Linked DNA regions of Homo sapiens: region 2 is linked to region 1. The links are contacts of gene promoters, found by promoter capture Hi-C in human tissues and cell types (Jung and others, 2019). All regions are on one chromosome and are shown on one strand. Each heading gives the region's core, a stretch centred on a gene start or on the middle of the fragment in contact. The rest is flanking DNA. Distances are from core to core; before and after follow the strand shown. Region 1 holds the start of CABP5 (calcium binding protein 5). Region 2 overlaps PLA2G4C (phospholipase A2 group IVC).

The links. Contacts are between HindIII fragments. The study calls those that stand out against the background at their distance.
Region 2: a contact is called between a fragment that was not itself captured here and the fragment with the promoter of CABP5 in region 1, in 3 of the 25 tissues and cell types used here (H1 embryonic stem cells, aorta and hippocampus).

The regions. Positions count from the first base shown.
Region 1 is chr19:48,042,610-48,045,554 of GRCh38, reverse strand. It overlaps CABP5 (calcium binding protein 5), which reads left to right and starts at 1,476. Exons shown (of 6, transcript NM_019855.5): 1 at 1,476-1,695. The coding sequence starts at 1,633. The HindIII fragment of the contact is 5,918 bases long and covers 1-2,945 here.
Region 2 is chr19:48,081,478-48,084,422 of GRCh38, reverse strand. All of the region lies in intron 10 of PLA2G4C (phospholipase A2 group IVC), which reads left to right. Among named protein-coding and RNA genes, the nearest start is that of PLA2G4C-AS1, 22 kb to the right of the region's middle. The HindIII fragment of the contact is 3,491 bases long and covers 1-2,945 here.

The DNA.
Region 1 (2,945 bases), core at 227-2,726:
AAATGTTCCTATACACACTGAAACTATGTGTTTATTTTTATCTCTCTATGTATAATTGAGATCCATGAGGACATACCAACGCCTCCAGTTATAGTCCAACACCACAGGGCTCATTCGACTTTCCTCCTTTCTGTCTTAGTAACTCCCTTTTCCAACAGTAGGAGACCTGGCCCCCATTCCCCTTACTCACTGTGTGTAGCCAATTTCCCTTTTCCTTTGCCATTTCACCCCTGTGGGGATGTCTTTCCCAGCCTAGTCTGGCTTCAACACCATACACCATGCTATTCCCATGAGTGGACATTTCTCTCTCTGCTTGGGTTATGACAACCCATGCCAGATCCCCTCTATGTGGCCTCCTTCCTAATTGCCTTACAGTGCAAACCTCCACCCCAGACAATGCCTGCATATAAATGCCCCCGCCCCACTCAGCTCATGTTCCAACACTGCACACCAAGCTGCCCATCTGTGGATTTATCCCCACCATCTCCAGCCCCAACACCCTGGGTCATGCTGCCCCTCTATGTGGACTTCTCCTCACCCCACTACCCCACTGGAATGCTGGCTCTCCACGCCAGATGGCCCCCAGCCCCCTCCTCCCCTAACCCTACCTAGTGTGGAGTCGCAAAACCCCTTTGGGCTTTGACACCACCATAACTTCACACCCTCCCTGACACCCCCACCTTGCTTTTTCCCTCTAAATCATTCAGGAAAGACAGAAGGAAAGAGATGAACAGAGGAAGAGCAAATGCCATGCTCTTAGTCACCGTGTACGCCCACTTCCTGAAGTCCATGCTTGCATCCTGCTCACTCTCACACATTCCCGACTCACCCAGGAAAACTCCCTGAGGCCAGGGGTGCTGAGCTCTCCATCTCACTGCCCAGAGGCCAGTGTTGGAGTGACCCTTCACATGCTTGTTGGAACATTGAATAAATGATGCCGTCTGCTCTAATCCTCCATTTTCTTTTCTTTTTTTTCTTTTTTTTTCTTTTTTTCGAGACAGGGTCTCACTATGTCAGCCAGGCTGGAGTACAATGGTGCAATCGTAGTTCACTGCAGCCTGGAGTGCAATGGTACAATCATAGCTCACTGCAGCCTTGAACTCCTGGGCTCAAGCAATCCTCCCATCTCTGCCTTTGGAGCAGCTGGGACTACAGGTGTGTGCCACCATGCACGGCTAATTTTTTTATTTTTTGTAAAGACAGCCTCTCCGTATGTTGCTCAGCTGGTCTCAAACTCCTGGGCTCAAGCAATCCTCCCACCTCAGCCTCCCAAAGCGCTGGGACTACAGACATGAGCACCACATCCAGCCTCTAATCCCCATTTATAAAATGCACTTTCCAATTCCACTCTGGGGATAAAGGCGTCACAGAACCTGACTCTGCATTTCCCCACCCATATCATTCAAGCCAGATGGGGAGGCAGGGACAGCTCTGGTCCCTCCCCAACCCGGGTAGAGATTTCCAGCCCAGCTGTCACAGCTCTAAGACACCGGGACCGAAGGAGAAGCCAAGAGAGGCAGGAAGAGGTGGCAAAGGAGTGCTGGAGAAGATAAGGAGGCTGAGCTCCGACAGGGAGCAGGGAGGAGGGGCCATCTTGAGACTGGTGCCCTGCGAGCTCCACCCCACCCCTCCATGCAGTTCCCCATGGGCCCCGCCTGCATCTTCTTGAGGAAAGGCATTGCTGAGAAACAGCGGGTGAGGTGGGGAGTGAGGGGGAAGGGCGGTGGGCGGGGCAAAGGGAGCAGGGGTGTGGGACAAAGAAGGGGACATGATGGTGCCACAGAACCAGGGGAACAGGTGGATAGAGCAGGAGCTGAGAAGGTATAAGAAATTCCAAGGACCCTGGTGGGGTCATGTAAGCCAGTGAGATAAATGGGTGGGGGTAAAATCAAAAGTCAGGAGCAAAGAGAAGGAGAGAAAAGGAAGAAAAATGAAAAGGGAAAGTGGGATGATGTCATTGTTGAGATTACCATCATTCTTTTCTATGGATGCTCATTGTGATAATGGTGGTGATGATGGTGGTGGTGGTGATGATAATGATGACGTTAATAACAATAGCTGCCACTTATTAAGTCATTGTTCTGTGCCCAGCCCTGTGCAAAGGGATTTGCACACCTGATGTTATTTACACCTCAGAACAACTCATGAGGTCAGTGACTTTCATTCCCATTTTACAGGTGAGGAAAGTGAAGCTCTGAGTCATGAAGTCATTTGCCTTAAGCTTACACAGTTAGTAAGTGGCAGGGTCGGCCAAGTATAGTGGCTCATGCCTGAATCGCAGCATCTTGGGAGGCAGAGGCGGGAGGATCACTTATGTCCAGGAGTTTGAGACCAGCCTGGGAAACACAAGACCCCATCTCTACTAAAAATACAAAAAAATAGCTCAGCATGGTGGCATGCATCTGCAGTCCCAGCTACTCAGGTGGCTGAGGCAGGAGGATCGCTTGAGCCCAGGAAGTGGAGGCTGCAGTGAGCCCTGATTATGCCACTGCACTCCAGCCTGGGCAACAAAGTGAGACTTTGTCTCGTTAAAAAAAAGTAAGTGGCAGGGTCGGGTTTGCTTGATTCCTGTGGGCATGCTTTTTAAAATTTTTTTATTTTTCCATATATACCAACTTGTCCAGATATGTGGGCATACTTTTCATTGTTAGGCTTTAAGATCACCAAAAAAAGAGAATAAAAAAGGCCAGGCAGTGGCTCACGCCTGTGATCCCAGCCCTTTGGGAGGCCAAAGCAGGTGGATCACGAGGTCAGGAGGTCAAGACCAGCCTGGCCAAGATGGTGAAACCCTGTCTCTATTAGAAATACAAAAATTAGCCGGGTGCAGTGGCAGGCGCCTGTAATCCCAGCTACTCGGGAGGCTGAGGCAGGAGAATCGCTTGAACCCGGGAGGCAGAGGTTGCAGTGAGCCGAGTTCGTGCCACTGCACTCCAGCTTGGGTGACA
Region 2 (2,945 bases), core at 221-2,720, 39 kb before region 1:
GGTTGCAGTGAGCTGAGATCACACCATTGCACTCCAGCCTGGGCAACAAGATGCAAGCAGCCTGGCCCGGCGCAGTGGCTCATGCCTGTAATCCCAGCACTTTGGGAGGCCCAGGCGGACAGATCACTTGAGGTCAGGGGTTCGAGTGCAAGCTGGGTAACATGGTGAAAATGCGTCTCTACTAAAAATACAAAAATTAGCCAAGTATGGTGGTGCACGCCTGTGATCCCAGCTACTCAGGAGGTTGAGGCACAAGAATCGCTTGAAACCAGGAGGCAAAGGCTGCAGTGAGCTAAGATCACACCACTACAGTCCAGTCTGGGCAACAGAGCAAGACTCCATCACACACACACACACACACACACACACACACACACACACAAAATTGGCATTCGTTACCTGTTCATCATTTAACCCTTTGAATGACCTGAAGAAGTGGATGCTGTTGTCCCCTCCATTTTGCTGAGAGCCACCGGGTCATGGAAAGGATGCGTGACTCACCTATGTAACTGGTTGGTGAGTGCAGACACAGGGATCTATAGGGGAATCGTATGGTGGTTCTGATCCAAAGCCTGTCTGCCTGAATCCACATCCCAGCTCCACCTCTCATGCGTTAGTGACCCTAGAAAGCTGCTTAAATTCTCTGTGAAAAAAATTAAAAAATAAAGAAATGAGGGGCCGGGCGCAGTGGCTCACACCTGTAATCTCAGCACTTTGGGAGGCTGAGGTGGGCAGATCACCTGAGGTCAGGAGTTTGAGACCAGCCTGACCAACGTGGAGAAACCCCATCTCTACTAAAAATACAAAATTAGCCGGGCGTGGTGGTACATGCCTGTAATCCCAGCTACACGGGAAGCTGAGGCAGGAGAATCGCTTGAACCCAGGAGGTGGAGGTTGCAGTGAGCTGAGATCACACCATTGCACTCCAGCCTGGGCAACAAGAGTGAAACACAGTCTCAAAAAAAAAAAAAGAAAAAAGAAAAAGAAAAAGAAAAAAAAGAAATGAAACAAACAAAAAAAAAAAAAAAAAGAAAAGAAAATCAACAACAACAACAAAATTCTCTGTGACCCAATTTCTCCTTTGTAAAATGGATACAATAGTGCATAGCCCCAATCTTGTATATTTATATCAAATAAATGTAAATATACATCAAATATACAAGATTGGGACTATGTACTATTTGATGTGGGGTTTAAATGACCTCATGTATGTAAAGTACTTAGAGCAAAGCTTGACACATGGGAGTGTCCTCTTAAATGTCAATATTATTTTTATTATGTCTTGTATTGTTAGAAAAAGCAAGCCAGGGCCAGGCGCGGTGGCTCACGCCTGTAATCCCAGCACTTTGTGGGGGCCGAGGCGGGTGGATCACCAGGTCAGGAGATCGAGACCATCCTGGCTAACATGGTGAAACTCCGTCTCTACTAAAAAATACAAAAAATTAGCCGGGCGTAGTGGCGGGCGCCTGTAGTCCCAGCTACTCGGGAGGCTGAGGCAGGAGAATGGCGTGAACCTGGGAGGCAGAGTTTGCGGTGAGCCAAGATCGAGCCACTGCACTCCAGCCTGGGCGACAGAGCGAGACTCCGTCTCAAAAAAAAAAAAAAAAGAAAGAAAGAAAAAGCAAGCCGGGCACAGTGGCTCACGCCTGTAATCCCAGCACTTTGGGAGGTTGAGGTGGGTGGATCACTTGAGGTCAGGAGTCCGAGACCAGCCCAGCCAACATGGTGAAACCTCGTTTCTACTAAAAATATAAAAATTAACTGGGCATGGTGGCGGGCGCCTGTAACCCCAGCTACTCGGGAGGCTGAAGCAGGGGAATTGCTCGAACCCGGGAGGCAGGGGTTGCAGTGAGCCGAGATCGCACCACTATACTCCAGGCTGGGCAACAGATCGAGACTGTGTCTCAAAAAAAAAAAAAAAAAAAAGAAAGAAAGAAAGAAAAAGAAAAAAAAGCAGACAAAATTTATTTATTGACAATTCAAAAATTTGAAAAAGATGAAGCAGAAGCTTGACCTAACCGACGTGTATCAGGACTTAGCTTTCTATCGCATTTTCAGCACATGTGGAAAAATTGAATTTTGATTTGGTCTCAAGTAAAAAGTTATAACATGTACAATATTTTAATTATAAGGATCAACACTGCTACTATTAGGTAATAATATTTTTAAATATTAAGATTTTTTTGTTTTTTTTTGAATTTTTACTTCAATAGCTTTTGGGGTACAAGTGGTTTCTGTTACACGATGAATTATGTAGTAGTAAATTCTGAGACTGTAGTCCACCCATCAGTGTATGTTTTAGAGTATGTTGCATTCAATATGTAGTTTTTTGGTTTTGTTTTTTGTGACAGTCTCACTCTGTTGCCCAGGCTGGAGTGCAGTAGCAAGATCTCGTCTCACTGCAACCTCTGTATCCTGGGTTCAAGTGCTTCTCCTGCCTCAGCCTCCCTAGTAGGTGGAATTACAGGCACGTACCACCATGCCCGGCTAATTTTTATATTTTTAGTAGAGATGAGGTTTTGCCATGTTGGTCAGGCTGGTCTCGAACTTCTGAGCTCAAGCAATCTGCCCGCCTCAGCCTCCCAAAGTGCTGGGATTACAGGCATGAGCCACCACACCTGGCCCCAATGTGTAGTGTTTTTTTGTTTTTGTTCTTGTTTTTTGAGACGGAATTTCACTCTTGTTGCCCAGGCTGGAGTGCAATGGAGCGATCTCTGCTCACCGCAACCTCCACCTCCTGGGTTCAAGCCATTCTCCTGCCTCAACCTCCCGAGTAGCTGGGATTACAGGCATGCACCACCATGCCTGGCTAATTTTGTATTTTTTTAGTACAGACAGGGTTTCTCCATGTTGCTCAGACTGGTCTCGAACTCCTGACCTCAGGTGATCCACCTGCCTCGGCCTCCCAAAGTGCCGGGATTACAGGCATGACCCACCACTCCTGG